Regions from separate parts of the Homo sapiens genome. Here regions 2, 3, 4 and 5 are each linked to region 1. The links are contacts of gene promoters, found by promoter capture Hi-C in blood cells and fetal thymus (Javierre and others, 2016). All regions are on one chromosome and are shown on one strand. The core of a region is centred on a gene start or on the middle of the fragment in contact, and the rest is flanking DNA. Distances in the headings are between cores, read along the strand shown. Region 1 holds the start of KLF6 (KLF transcription factor 6). Region 2 overlaps PITRM1 (pitrilysin metallopeptidase 1). Region 3 overlaps LOC105376370 (a long non-coding RNA gene). Region 4 overlaps LINC02668 (long intergenic non-protein coding RNA 2668). Region 5 has its middle 67 kb from the start of LINC00703.

The links. Contacts are between HindIII fragments. The CHiCAGO score rates a contact against its expected background, and 5 or more counts as called.
Region 2: a fragment that was not itself captured here is called in contact with the fragment with the promoter of KLF6 in region 1 in 1 of 17 cell types (neutrophils); the score reaches 5.8 in neutrophils.
Region 3: a fragment that was not itself captured here is called in contact with the fragment with the promoter of KLF6 in region 1 in 2 of 17 cell types (total B cells and naive B cells); the score reaches 6.8 in total B cells.
Region 4: a contact is called between a fragment that was not itself captured here and the fragment with the promoter of KLF6 in region 1, in 1 of 17 cell types (neutrophils). The highest score is 5.6, in neutrophils.
Region 5: a fragment that was not itself captured here is called in contact with the fragment with the promoter of KLF6 in region 1 in 1 of 17 cell types (total B cells); the score reaches 5.9 in total B cells.

Annotation. Positions count from the first base shown.
Region 1 is chr10:3,783,696-3,786,617 of GRCh38, reverse strand. KLF6 (KLF transcription factor 6) reads left to right here and starts at 1,409. Exons shown (of 4, transcript NM_001300.6): 1 at 1,409-1,705. The coding sequence starts at 1,604. RefSeq lists silencers at 500-559, 740-1,019, 1,270-1,869, a promoter at 671-1,608 and enhancers at 1,475-2,030, 2,031-2,587, 2,588-2,922. The HindIII fragment of the contact is 8,520 bases long and covers 1-2,601 here.
Region 2 is chr10:3,167,144-3,170,065 of GRCh38, reverse strand. The region is part of intron 2 of PITRM1 (pitrilysin metallopeptidase 1); the gene reads left to right. Among named protein-coding and RNA genes, the nearest start is that of PITRM1, 4.2 kb to the left of the region's middle. RefSeq lists an enhancer at 619-668. The HindIII fragment of the contact is 3,737 bases long and covers 1-2,922 here.
Region 3 is chr10:4,335,651-4,338,572 of GRCh38, reverse strand. It overlaps LOC105376370 (a long non-coding RNA gene), which reads right to left. Exons shown (of 3, transcript XR_930589.3): 3 at 1,758-2,209. Among named protein-coding and RNA genes, the nearest start is that of LINC00703, 47 kb to the left of the region's middle. The HindIII fragment of the contact is 5,347 bases long and covers 1-2,922 here.
Region 4 is chr10:3,252,011-3,254,932 of GRCh38, reverse strand. All of the region lies in intron 2 of LINC02668 (long intergenic non-protein coding RNA 2668), which reads left to right. LOC105376353 (mucin-5AC-like) reads right to left here. Exons shown (of 3, transcript NR_164119.1): 3 at 1,579-2,922. Among named protein-coding and RNA genes, the nearest start is that of LINC02668, 4.0 kb to the left of the region's middle. The HindIII fragment of the contact is 4,547 bases long and covers 1-2,922 here.
Region 5 is chr10:4,316,266-4,319,187 of GRCh38, reverse strand. No RefSeq gene overlaps it. Among named protein-coding and RNA genes, the nearest start is that of LINC00703, 67 kb to the left of the region's middle. The HindIII fragment of the contact is 1,051 bases long and covers 888-1,938 here.

The sequences.
Region 1 (2,922 bases), core at 160-2,659:
ATGTGATGAACACGAGCCAAGAACACTGTCAATTCACTCTGCATAACCTTCACCGCCCACATACCGCAGGTACAAGACAAACCTCCTTTCTCCACTCCAGACTCACTAAGGTCCCCACCTAGTCTTACAGCCACATGCTTCTGCCGGACCCTCTAAAACTTAACATACAAAACCCTCTAATTTTTTTTTACATAGTCCATTCTTTCAAAATGTTTAATGTTCATTAAACTATTTTGAAACAAAAACTATAATACAGTTACAATTCAGTTTTCCATTTTGGATTTTAAAATGCTCTGGTTCGAGTCTCGACATTTTTCTTAAAAATGAACATTACGGTATATTTTAGGAGATAATTTATATGGAAAAAAACACACACACTAAATGTCGGCTTGCACCTAAATTGTTTACACGTTCATGGGAAAACCTAGCTGTTAACCTTGGTGAGGGCTAAGATCGCCCTCTACAAGATAAACACGTTTCTCCCAATTCCAAGGGGAGCCTGCGTGCTCCCCTCCCCCACTCTGGTGGCCCGGAGGACAGAGGGGACCCTAGGACTGGAGGGGGACGGAGACGGGCTCAGGGATGGAGGGGGACAGAGAGGGACCCGGAGGTGGAGGAGGACAGAGAGGGGTACCCCAAGGTTAGAGAACAGAGGATGACTAGGGGGATGTAGGGAAACAGAGCGGCGCAGAAGAGGACAGTTGGGGACGGGGCGGCCCCGGGCATAGAAGGGGACAGTTGGCGACCGGGAAGCCCCCGGCGTAGAAGGGGACAGTTGGGGACGGGGCGGCCTCGGGCATAGAAGGGGACGGGGGGGAACCGGGCGGCCCCGGGACCGGACGGCCGCCCGCAGGGTGAGCTGCCGGAACCGGGGCTCGCGCGGCGACAGGGCCCGGCTTGGTGACCGGGACGGGCGTGGGGTGGCGGGACCGGGCAGCGGGGAAGAGAGACCGGGACTGGGGACAGGCGACGCGGCCCGCCCCGGCTCTCCCAGCCCCGGCTCCCTTAGCTCCGGCCGCGGGCGCAGTGCAGGGCTCGGCCGCGCACCTCACAGCGCGGACTCCTCCGGCGCGCGGCCGCCCGCGCCTTATATACCCTGCTAAAAATAGCCTGCGAGGCCACTTTCCAATCAGAACGAGCAGAGTTCGAATTGAGCCAATGGTGCGGGCCGTGATGGAGAGTCTCGGTCACGCCAGGCGGGGCCGCTGTGTGTCGCCGCCTGCGATTGGCCGGAGCTGACATCATCGGCGCGCAGCCCCCGGGCCGGGAGCCACGGGATTGGGCCGCGCACGGGGCGGGCGCGGGGCGAGTCACGTGGGGGGAGGGGGAGTGGGGGGAGCCAGGCGGGGGCGGAGGGGGAGGCTGGCAGCGGAGCTTTGAATAGGGAAGTTTTGCAGGGGTTACGTTTGCAGTCAGTCCGGTGTTTGCAAATATTGTGTGGGCTCCGCGCGCTGCGGGCTGCGGGAGGGTCCGGCCGGGCGTCTCTGCGAGCCTGGAGTTTGCATGAAACTTTCACCTGCGCTCCGGGGAGACTTTCGGCTCCGGCTCCCACCGCGCGCCTCGCCGCCCTCGCGACCGCGGGCTCCGTCCAACCCGGCCCGACATGGACGTGCTCCCCATGTGCAGCATCTTCCAGGAGCTCCAGATCGTGCACGAGACCGGCTACTTCTCGGCGCTGCCGTCTCTGGAGGAGTACTGGCAACAGGTAAACGCAGCCGGCCGCGGTTCCCTGCGGGCGCCGGGGCGCGGGCCGGGTCGGCTGTTTGGGGTTCAGACCCGGTGCTCTCTGCGGTCCGCTGGGCCTGGGCCCCGCGCTGTCACCGGGGGAGCGGGCGCAGCGCCCCCGCCGATCGATCCTCCAGGCTGCGATCAGCGTCCGCCCAGGGAAGCCCCAACTCCCGGCACAGCCCGGCCGAGCCCCTGGCACGAGTTCGGAGCCTGTCCCCGCTCCAGACGCCACAGCTGGAGCTTGTCATGGGGACCAACTTGCTCTGCCTGCCAAGGTGTTTTTTTTTTGTTTGTTTGTTTTTTGTTGTTTTTTTTTAACGGATTTTGTTTTTGTTTTGTTTCTTGGTGCTTGTACTTAACAGTTTTTTAAAAAAATCACATTTTGCCCCCAGAACGTAGACCAGCTCTCTTTTATTTTTGTCTTTTTTAAACTGTAGACCATTTCCAATGTGTTTTCTGCTCTTTGGAATGCCTAACATTTCCCCTAGATCTGCCTTATTTGTCTTCCCTGCTTCTCTTGTTGACCAAGAAAAATAAAAATAAAACTGTGTACACCCCAGTGACTTGTCAGTCTTGTGACAATGAGCCCGTCCAAACTGCTTCAAGTCTTAGTTTGGAAAGAAGGACCTCGGTTTCCGACATTGTCGTAGAACTGGAATTTGGGGGCATTGGAAATTTAAGAAACTTACCAGGTCCCCGTGCTTATAGGTAGCATCGCCCGAGGGGAGAGAGACTGACACTCCTCCCATTGTCTCTCCAGCGATCGCAGGAGGGTTTACTGTTGTCTCCCTGCCCTGCTGTGCTGTTTGTTTTTCGTCACAAAGTGAATTGCCAGATCAAATAGAGGCTGTGGGTTTCCAAGCCTCGAAAGCTTTAAGGAAGATGAAATGCAGGGTGTTGCAACCTTCACACGCCTGCTTAATTGTTCACAGTCCTCTCCTGCCTTTTCCCCCTCCCCCTCCTGTTTTTTTCCTCCTCAAAGAAGCTGCTCCCTAGGACGTGATTGAAATTGATCTAAGTAGTTTCCTTCGGGCGTTTGGGATTTGGGCAAACGGCCAGACCTGGCTCTTGGTCGCCTTTGGAGGCTTTTAAACTCTCCGAGAGCTTCGTTCAGGTCCCGGGTGCTCATCAGCGTAATGGAGATTTTAAATTGGCCGGATTATTAAAGTTTAACAAGATCTCCATAAATGTGCT
Region 2 (2,922 bases), core at 278-2,777, 620 kb after region 1:
ACATTGCAGGTGCGGCTTCTGGCCTATGTACGGAGCCCTTCAGGGCGGAGACTAGCGTTTTTGTCCTTGTGTCCCAAGGCCCTGGCCCAGCTCCTGCTGTGTGGCAGCTACTCGGCTGAACAGAGCTTGTGAGTGAAATGAGCCCCAGTCCCTTCCTGGAATCCCGCAAAGCCTGGTTCTTGTGAGATTTTAGAGAGTAACACTTCCAGCTGGGTCTCTGTAATCAGACACACTAGCGTTTCTGCAGCCAAACCTGATGTTTCACTGAGCATGAGCATGAAGACTCACTGCCCTGATCTGTTTAGTCAGGTTTTGCCATCAAATAGCTTGCTCTAAACGTCCGCAGAACCTTTCAGTTTTCTGAGCCATTCGGGTTTCAGAATGATAAAGAAGCAATTGTGGACCTGTACTTACTTGGGTCTGTATTAAAATAGATTCATTTGGTTTTTGTTTTGTTATTTTGCCTAAACCTTTTGCATTGTTTCTATTTAGCATGGTAACTGAAAATGACACGCTTCATGTATTTGGCCAGCTGTTGGCTTTGTGCTATGCTTGATGTTATAGCAAACGTGAAAGACAAACAGCTTACTGTCTAGAAAGACTGCTGCGGCTGTGACCGGAGGCACATGGTGGACGCCACGCGGAGGGCCAAGGACAAGGGCAGGAGGAGGAGTGGGAGCTGCTGCTGCTGGGGGCAGAGGGAAGAGCTCCTGGAGAGGGTGGTGTGAGAACGTGGCTGCCTTCGGTCAGGGCTCCAGCAAGGGAGCCAGGGCAGTGACTAGGGTGCGCCAGACAAGGTCCAGGCATGGGACTCATGAAAAGACTTGGAGCGTTTGTGAAATCCTGCAAAGGCCAGGCAAAGACACTTGGGTTTATGGTACAGGTTACTGTTAATAAGGGCCTCACCCACAGCGGTAGATTCTCCTCCTTTATTTCTCAAATTTTATAGAAACGTATTTACTTTTGAGACTGGGACTCACCCTGTCGCCCAGGCTGGAGTGTGGTGGTATGATCTTGGCTCACTGCAGCCTCGAACTCCTGGGCTCAAGCGATCCTCTTGCCAAGTAGCTGGGACAAGGTGCCACCACGCCTGGCTAATTGTGTGTGTGTGTGTGTGTGTGTGTGTGTGTGTGTGTGTGTGTGTGTGTGTAGATGGAAACTTTGTTGCCTAGACTGGTCTCAAACTCCTGGGTTCAAGCAATCCTTTTGCTTGTGTATTAGTCTAGTCTCACACTGCTATGAAGAAATACCCAAGACTGGGTAATTTATAAAGTATGAGCTAAAAAGTGAAGAGGTTTAATTGACTCACAGTTCTGCATGGCTGGGGAGGCCTCAGGAAACACAATCGTGGTGGAAGGCATCTCTTCACAGGGCGGCAGGGGAGAGAATGAGGATCAAGTGAAGGGGGAAGCCCCTTATAAAACCGTCAGCTCTCATGAGAACGTGCTCACTGTCACGAGAATAACATGGAGGAAACCGCCCTCTTGATTCAATTACCTCCCACCAGGTCCCTCCCACAACATGTGGGGATTATGGAAACTACAATTCAAGATGAGATTTGGGTGGGGACACAGCCAAACCATATCACCTTGGCCTTCCAAAGTGCTGGGATTATAGGTGTGAGCCACTGTGTCCAGCCATAGAAACTTACGATAAGTCATGATTCTTGTTTGAGAAATAGCTACCATGAAAGCTATTATTATTAAAGCTATATATTATTAGAAAGCAAACATCTCACTGTATCTGCTGACTTCAAAAGCATTGATCATCTGTTACAAAGTACAGTGAGCTTGGAAACAGAAGTAATTTCGCGGCGGTAGATGATGCAGGTCATAGTGGTCTGCTTTATGCATGACTGTTGCGTGGCAGGCTCCCTAGATTGGGCTGAGGAGACCCGAGGTCTGACCTTGGCCAGCGACTTACTGTGTGCGCTTGGCCAGGTGACTCATGGCACCTGGCAGGAGGGGGTGGTGAGTGGTGTGGTGATCACAGGGACGTGGTGTGTGATTGAGGGAGAGGGCCGGCTGGCATGACTGGAAGAGAAGACAGTTTCTTTCATACCGAGGAGTATGGTCACTTACCAGGAGGCTTACCTAAAGTAGGAGATGACCTTCCACGCCGCCCCAGGAGTGGGGAGTCTTTCGTCTGTCTTGTGGGCATTTCTATCCTCCCGGCCCCTCCAGCTGTTCTGGAAGCCACAGCTTTGTGCTTCTAGCTACCACCGAGAACCCATCCTAAACTAAGAGAAGCAAAGGCTGATCCTAGAGCCTCTCCCTGCTGTCGCAGGCTAGCCCACTCTAGCATTTCCCCTCCTTGCAGGCCCGTTCTGCGCACTACAGGAGATGATATGCACAGAAACAGACACACAGCCAACGTTGGAAGGGGTGCTGTGTTACTGAGGCGCAGCACACAAAAGCAGGAGACACTCAGCAGACATTGGAAGGGGCGCTGTGTTACTGAGGCACAGCACACAAAAGCAGGAGACACTCAGCAGACATTGGAAAGGGCGCTCTGTTACTTAGGTGCAGCATGGTACCATGGGAAGGGCAGACACCAGGGTGAATCCTGGCTCTGTGATTTAGGCAGCTTATTTCATCACCCTGAGCCTCGGTTTTTTCGTCTGTAAATGAGTATGAGAATACCTCCCTCACAGGATTATATGTGACATGATTAGAAAATGCCTAGCCAAAAAAAGAATAAAAAATTTAAAAAATAAAAAAATCTAAAATACCTAGCCAGTAGTAAGCGCGTGCGCTCTCGCGCTCGCTCGCTCGCTCGCTCTCTCTCTCTTTCTATACACACACACACATATTCTCATCTGCCTTTTTTAGGTCTGTCTTTCCTTGTTTGTAGGATAAGGGACCTGGACAAGATGGTTCTCTTCTCTCCAGCTCTGAAATACTGCCTTCCCGGCATCATCTA
Region 3 (2,922 bases), core at 203-2,702, 550 kb before region 1:
TGATATACATAGAAATCTACACACAAGCACGCGCGTGTGTGCACACACACACACACGCTACACTTTCCTAGTGAGTTTAGTGCATAGATTATGAAGCTAGTGTCTTCACAGTAGCTTTGTTTTTCCTGTGCTGCAAAAGGACTGGCAGCCCTTCTCAAATGACCCTACTGCCAAAATGTGATTTTAGAAACACGTAATTATCATTTGTTTCTGCAGCAGCCTGCCTATAGGTGCTTCATCCGAAAAATTTATGACGATAGGGATGGAGTCCAGAGAGCTTTTAGGGAAATAATTTGTATTCATCCATGGCACCATTTTAAGTGTTTAAAGGCTTTCCATCCTTTGAAACTTTATTTCTACTTAGACCCATCCCATCCGGACCCAGCTTCAGCTGTGCTCCATTGACCTGAACCTGCTCTCTGTCTGTGTCTGGCAGGTACTGACCTAAGTGTGCCTTCACATGTTTAGCTGCTTCATTATTTGATCCACATGCATGGGGATATTGCATTGTATTCATGCTCCACCCTGAGGAACAGAAGCTGCAACAAGGTGCCACTGTCTCAAACACCACCTGCTTGCTGGGGGTCACCTTTAAGATGTGACAGTTTTAGTTTCACCATAAACGGAATAGAAATCAGTAGAAATATCTGTGGAAGCCAGTGTGAACTTTATGGTGCCTTTGAACCTCACAGGGTAAAGTTCTTATGGCACACTGCTCAGTAATATGATCTTCCTGTTGGCCTCAGGGATCTCAGAAAGGGAAATCCTCTATTTTCAGTGGCCCAGCTACACAAACAGTGCAAGGAGGCAAGTTCCATATGCAGAATCCAGACACCCACCAGGCCTGGCTGCCCTGGTTCCTGTTTCTTCCCCGTCACCACCACATTTCTATGCTGTCAGCAGGACTCAAAAGGCAAATTGATTTAGCTCATTACAATTAGGATGAATTAAAAGCAATATTTTTACTTCACTCAAAAAGTCAGCAGGTCACAAAATATATTGCTCTGCATATATAGTAGGTAATGCCTCACATATGATTTATTGGAGAATGAGCTAGTTCATTTCCAGGAATCTTCTAGATAAATGAAGTTCACCACTAATATGTTAGAACTTTTTTTAAAAGTTAACTTTTATTTTCCTAGTAGCCATTTAAAAATATATTAACCCCCCCTCCCTGCCTTCTCCCTTAATCATGGCATTTATTGCTCAGGTTATTCCAAAATTACTGCCGTAACATTAGCAATGAGAAGTTAATAGATTAAGAAATCATAAAAATTCACAATCAAGCTAATTGAAGTTTATTGTTTTGCTAAGGCCTTTGAGATTTTATACCAAACGATAAAAGCTAGATGACATTTATGTCTGCAAAATCCATTATTGAGAAATTGCTGTGTGTGTACATATACCATTCCTTCATCCTCTTATTCATCCCACACTCATTCGAGGCTCTTACAGGAAAATATGCACCTGGCTGAATTCCATCTCCTACATCCACCACACACCTAGGTCATCAATGCATTGTATATTGACCTGCATAATTGCTTCTTTTGTTCTTACTGAGAACTTCCTAACCCCTTCCCATGTCTAACCCAGGCCACAAAAACTTTTCAGGATGGTTAGAATTGTAAGGTAAAATTTTATTTTCTTGTCTTTTCTTTTTTAAGCAAAAGGTATAGAGATTACCTGAATTTGAAAAAAAATTAGAGAAGGGGTGGTGGTGGTGAGTACCAGGAACTCTATATTTATTGATTTCATGATTTATCCATAATCAAGTTTATTGTTATCTACAAAAATTTTGTGTGGTTTTAATTAAAGTGCCCTTGGAGTGACTGGCGTGTGCAGGAGAGTTTCCACTCTACCGTAGGTGATGCATAAGCTACTACTGGACTGGCAGCTCTGAACCAATGGTAGTCCATGGCTGGAGTCCTGTGTTGAGGGTTCTATCAGTGCATCTAGGCTTTTTAAATACAGCAGGGTCTTCTTAGCAATGCCTGCTTTGTGCACAGGATTGGGATTTGCAGTATACATGGCATGGATTTAACATGCTTATCTTACATGCAGCAGCTTCAACCACTAAGACTGTTCAGCTCATCTTCATCTTTGTACCTGTCCATTAACATCAAGTTTCAAGGTTGTCAACGCACCAAGATCTGTTAGGCATCTTACTTAGACTCTTTCCTCCTCCAAATTAATTGCTTCCAAATTTCTGCTGATGGAAAGTAAGATAAATCAACTGATTAAAATTGTATTTATAATAGATTGATTTCTAGACAGAGGAATGAAAATAAGATAAATATGAAACAAAACAGATAATAAATGTTAATTATAAAATCCTGGTGGAGTGTACACAAGTGTTCACTCTGCAATTTTTTCAGCTTTTATGTTAGAAATATTTTATGATAAGATTTTTGGAAGAATTGTGCTTATGGAAATCATTAATAATCAGTGATTGCGTACATAAGAGGATTGCCTAAAAATAAAAGCATGGACTTTCATGGAAATAATTTAAAACACTGTCATTGTTCCTCAGGTTCCATTTTTGTTCATTTCTACATTTCTACATTTTGTTTTCTGTTTAAAATAGTCAAGTAAATGGCATAGAGTGGGTCATTGTTTCACATTTTTAAGATCCTTTGAATAATAGTATGGGGTGTTTTGCTACCTTGTTTGTTTTGTCTTGGCTTTATTCATTTTTAAATTTTGATTATATTGAGAAGGGAGAGACAAAGAATAGCAAGTATTTTTTTCCCTTAAAATACAAATCCAACATAAACCACTCTCCTCTTTGTCATCAAATCTGCTTGGCAGCAGTGTTGTGCCACCCACAATATATTACTCTAAAAAGCAAAGCTAGGCTAATTAATGTTGTATAAACCTAGGAGAAAATGCAAAATCGATGGGAGGAAGCTGGTAGGTATTTGA
Region 4 (2,922 bases), core at 194-2,693, 530 kb after region 1:
ATCGACATCTGTGTTTGCAAGAGCCAAAGGGTGCCGCTCTTTTACGGGTCTTGGAAATAAATCTTCGGTATGTAGATAGCTAAGAGCTGACCATTGTGTCTCCATTTCAAATTGTGTCCTTTTAATGTGGAAGAGGATTTATGAACTTTATTATCAACATGTAGCTTGTTGAAAATCAAATTTTTGTTTATTTCAGGAAAGCAGAAGTACTCAAATTATTTTATTAGACTTGATGAAAAATGGGCTGGTTGTGCTCAGAGACTTTGATTCTGATTCTAGCTCTCTAACCTTCAGCACTTCTCTGCTATTTCTCTTTTAGGTTATATTTTTAAATGAAAAAATAAGCAAAATCCTCTGCAGTGTTGAAAAAAAGTTGAAGAGCTTGGTCCATGGGTAGATTAATAGATAGGAAGATGATGGACCAACAGATGGATGAGTGGGTGGGTGGGTGAGTGGAGGGGCGGATGGGGGAATAGGTGGATGGTTGGATAGGTGGGTAGATGGGGGGATGGATTGATAGATGGATAGGTGGATGGGAGGGTAGGTGTGTGGATAAGTGGGTGGATGAGTGGAGGGGTGGATGGGGGAATAGGTGGATGGTTGGATAGGTGGGTAGGTGGGTGGATGGAATGATAGATGGATAGGTGGATGGGTGGGTAGATGTGTGGATGAGTGGGTGGATGAGTGGAGGGGCGGATGGGGGAATAGATGGATGGTTGGATAGGTGCGCAGATGGGTGGATGGATTGATAGATGGATAGGTGGATGGGTGGGTAAGTGTGTAGATGAGTGGGTGGATGAGTGGAGGGGTGGATGGGGGAATAGGTGGATGGTTGGATAGGTGGGTAGATGAGTGGATGGATTGATAGATGGATAGGTAGATGGGTGGGTAGGTGTGTGGATGAGTGGGTGGATGAGTGGAGGGGCGGATGGGGGAATAGATGGATGGTTGGATAGGTGGGTAGATGGGTGGACGGATTGATAGATGGATAGGTGGATGGGTGGGTAGATGTCTGGATGAGTGGGTGGATGAGTGGAGGGGCGGATTTACCCCTACCATTCACTCTCACTCTACAGCATGATGTTGTGTTCATAAGGAAAGAGACCAGCAACTCTTAAATGAGAAGTTACAAGTCTTCCATATCAGGTGAATCCCAAATGTTAAAGCGATTTTCCCAAATTATCAACTGATACAAATATGAAATCAGATCACAAACTCTCCTTAAAATAACTTTAAAAGAAAAGAATACACTACAGGTATTGTTAACCAAGTTGTCATTCATGTGAAAATATTTTTTGGCTGAAAGATCATGGTGCATGTAAAAGCATCATTACCTTAGGTTCACTATTTTAGACACTACTATTTTTAATAAAGGTTGATAAACATTCTTACTGTGATGGGAAAATTTGTTCAGTCATATGTACATTTTGGTTAAACCTCTCTTAATCTATCGGCTAAGATTTCCAAGTGCAGAATGACTGAGCTCAGCCTGAGGAGCGGTGAGGGTACTTTCAGTGGAAATGCACAGAAAAACTGTTTTTGAAGGAAGATTTTGAGGACAGAATTCCAACAATAATGTTGAATATAAGAAAGGTCTAAATTTATTTAGCACAAATAGAATTGTACACATTAAAAAATTTGCATTTTTCAAGATAATTTTCAGACTTTGCAAACAACTATATTTTAAAAGTGAGTAACACCAAATCAGACTAATGAAGAGATGTAATTGGGCTACATAGATGGAGATTTCCAATATACAAGAGAGGAAGGGGGAAGGTTGGTGATAGACCACTCTTTTCTATGTCTTTCACTATTTTCCATATTTCTTTCTTTAAATACACTGCACAGGAGTATAGAAAAAAGTGAAAATACAGGTTGACAAACAGGAGTTCATTATTTAGAAGAAACATAAGATTTAAACTCTGGTAGTTCATTACCATCAATGTAGTTTGTATGCCCAGGAGACATAACATGTAGGGATTTGAAGTGATATATTTTGTGAGCTTTTGTAGCTATCTGTAAAAATAGAATTTCAGAGTTTATACACATTTAAACTTGAACGAAACAAGGATTTAACTATTATTATTAAAGATGAGATCTAACTCCCAAGTGGAACTTAGAAACACAAACCGTTGGCAACTCCAGCGTTGTGCAGGTGACTTCCGTGCAGTGGGGATTGCATATGCTGGGCGACGCAAGGGAAACTGCACTGTTCCTGCAGTGTGTGCTGTGCTGTAGATGTGGGAATCTGCACTGTTCCTGCAGTGGGTGCTGCACTGTAGATGTGGGAATCTGCACTGTCCCTCAGTGGGTGCTGTGCTGTAGATGAGGGAATCTGCGCTGTTCCTGCAGTGGGTGCCGTACTGTAGATGTGGGAATCTGCACTGTTCCTGCAGTGGGTGCCGTACTGTAGATGTGGGAATCTGTGCTGTTCCTGCAGTGGGTGCTGTGCTGTAGATGTGGGAATCTGCACTGTCCCTCAGTGGGTGCTGTGCTGTAGATGAGGGAATCTGCGCTGTTCCTGCAGTGGGTGCCGTACTGTAGATGTGGGAATCTGTACTGTTCCTGCAGTGGGTGCCGTACTGTAGATGTGGGAATCTGTGCTGTTCCTGCAGTGGGTGCTGTGCTGTAGATGTGGGAATCTGCACTGTCCCTCAGTGGGTGCTGTGCTGTAGATGAGGGAATCTGCGCTGTTCCTGCAGTGGGTGCCGTACTGTAGATGTGGGAATCTGCACTGTTCCTGCAGTGGGTGCCGTACTGTAGATGTGGGAATCTGTGCTGTTCCTGCAGTGGGTGCTGTGCTGTAGATGTGGGAATCTGCGCTGTTCCTGCAGTGGGTGCCGTACTGTAGATGTGGGAATCTGTGCTGTTCCTGCAGTGGGTGCCGTGCTGTAGATGAGGGAATCTGCGCTGTTCCTGCAG
Region 5 (2,922 bases), core at 164-2,663, 530 kb before region 1:
AATTTAAGACCAAAATGAATTCTCAAGTGGTATCTGATGACTACTAATCTCTCAAAGACATAAGTATGTTTTTGCCAAATTTTAGGTCAAACAAATACACTTAGCCATGTAAACCATTTAAAAAAGCAATGCTGGGGAAGTCTGTAATTGGAGCGGATTCAAGGATTTTTTAAACTAACTCATATTCATGGGGAAAAGTTAAAATATACTGAGGAAATACAGGGTCCGAGCAATTGCTGAATTTTATTGATAATAGGGAAGAAAAAATATCTTTTGAGAATAAATGCATTTTGAAAATAATCTGCTATTCTATGCCTTTTACTTGGTGTTTCTTCTAATAAAGAGACTTAGGATACGAGAAGCAAGAAACACAAATTTTACATCATTTTCTTCCTTTCTTTGGAAGAATTTTTTAAGACATAAAAACAGATAAACACTCATTCTTCTCTATTCCCCATTTATATTTTTATCTGACTCTTTATTGCTCCATTGCACAAGTAAATTCTGCGTCACAGAATAAAATACTCTAACTAACCATGGTTTTCCTGCTGATAATTTGGAATTTAGCCTCTGCCTTTTTTTAAGCACAAATGTGGAGTCTTGAGTGCACTCACTGATTTGGAGGGAGAAATTTATTGATAGTAAATAAAAGGGAAACTTAATATCATTATTCAGCTCACAAAATAAAGTATCAGCTTCGTACATAGATATCTAACAAGTGGCTTCTTGGGATTGATTCTTTTATTGTTGAATTACGTATCTTATATGACTTGAATCCAAAATCAGAATTAGGCAATCACCATCAGGTCCAACCCCTTTTAATGGTTCCTAGGTTGCATCATAATGGATACATCAAGAATTAGAGCTTGATGGAGGAGGCCTAAGCTTTATGTTTGGGGCTCGTCTGAAAAAACAAAAATTTCTCTGATGTTTAAATCATAGTGAATGACTTTATGGAGTGGGATGAGATAAAATTTAGTGAACTACTTGTTGACATATATTTATTGCTTTAAAATTGTTAAATAATTTGTGTTTGCCTCTTCCTGTTTGCTTTGTTTGTGGCATTTCTTGAGTTAATTTTATTAAATCACTTGCAACACAAAATTTCTAGGAGAGATCTAATCTTGGGCTCATTATTTTACCATTAGAGATCAATTTATTTTAGGAAATATATTAGAAGGCAAATAACTATTGACTCACTAACAAGAATGGCAAATATAGAAAAAGTAGACAATACCAAGTGTGGGCAAAATTGTGGAGCTCCTGGCACTCTCATATATGGGTGACAGGACTGTAGAAAGTTATTTAGCCATATGTACTGAGGTGAATTAAGTGTAACATTTCACTTTTAGGTGTAGATTTGTGTGCAACAGAAATGTGTGCATTTGTTCACCATAAAACAACCATGAGAATGTGCATAGCTACACTATTTATAATATTCAAAGACAGTAAACAGCCCAAATGTATCATATTCATATAATACTCTGTAACCATGAGAATGAATAAATGCACACCACAACACAAGAGAATTTTGTAAAAGTTCTATTGAGAAAAGAAAGCCAGGCGCAACAGAGTACATGTGCTAGATAGGATTCCACTCATGTGAAGTTCAAAAGCAAGCAGAATCAATCCATGGTAGTGAAGTCAGGATACAGGCTGGAGTTAATGACTGGGAGGGGAACAAAAGGGCTTCGAAGGTGCTGTTAGTATTTTGTATCTTAACATGGGTGCTAATTAATGCTGTGTGTTTAGTTTGCAAAAATTTATTCAACCATGACCTATATTGTATTTCCTTTCAGGGTATATCTCATAACCTCAATGAAAATTTTCATTTTAAAAAAGTGTTTTTTGGGGAAAATATGTATTAAGCAAATTCTGTATTGTGTAGAAGTATGACTGTGAAGGCTATGAAGATTTGATGTATAAATGAGGAAAGCTTTGAAATGGGCATAAAAGGGAAAGGAGAGGCACTGGAAAAAGTATATTCAACGAAACATGCCAGAGCTTTAGATGCAGCCATAGTTATCTCTCTGAGAACCACCTGGTTGTCTGAATGAGGAGAGCTGGCTCATAGGCAGAGGAAAAGCTTTAAAGAGAAATGTGACTTTTATTTCTAGGCTCCTCTCTTTGGGCATCAACAGCTTTCCCCAACAAATACCTGTCCACAATTCTATATTCACAGCAAGATGGAGTCCCCCTCCAGTTTTGTGTACTTCCTATGCTAATATTGGCAGCCAAGAAAAACAAAAGGACAGCACTCTTAAAGTTATTCACAAAAAAGGCATCAGGGTCTCTAAAATTGTCATCCTACCACCTACTTATTATTTCAATGCTATTATTTTTTAAGCCCTGAAATAAATGCCCAATTTTGGGGCTCCTGTTGGAAATCAAACAAATCTTTTTGCGGGCTACTCTCTGGCCCATTCCTTCCCTTCAGGCCTGCTGAGGGTGATGTCATCTGGACACATGGAAACTTACTGTTCCAATAAGACTCTCTGAAGTGCCCTTGGTTCTGCCAGGCCCACTGACTCAGAAGCGCAGGGTGATCAGATGACGATGGCATTCCGCGGCTGGACCACTTCCCCCAGTGCCTGCTTTGATAAAAACACATCCACAGAACACTGTTGGTCAGGAGCCTCCTGCATGACACCGAGTCACTAGTTTCTGTTTGGTTCTATTCCCATCAATATTACATGCACCAATATTATAACAAATATCTTTTTTTTTTCTTCCTTCGCCCACCCACCCTTTCCAAGTAGCCACATACTGGCTGCACTATCTAATCCTCCGAGAACAAAGAGAGTCTGTTTGGGTGCAGACATAGCTTAGGTCCTTTCCACGACACACTTTCATCAGCTGCCCGATAGATGCCGCCTTCTCTCGGATCAACCGCAGCTGTTTAAAGATTTTTGAAAAGACATA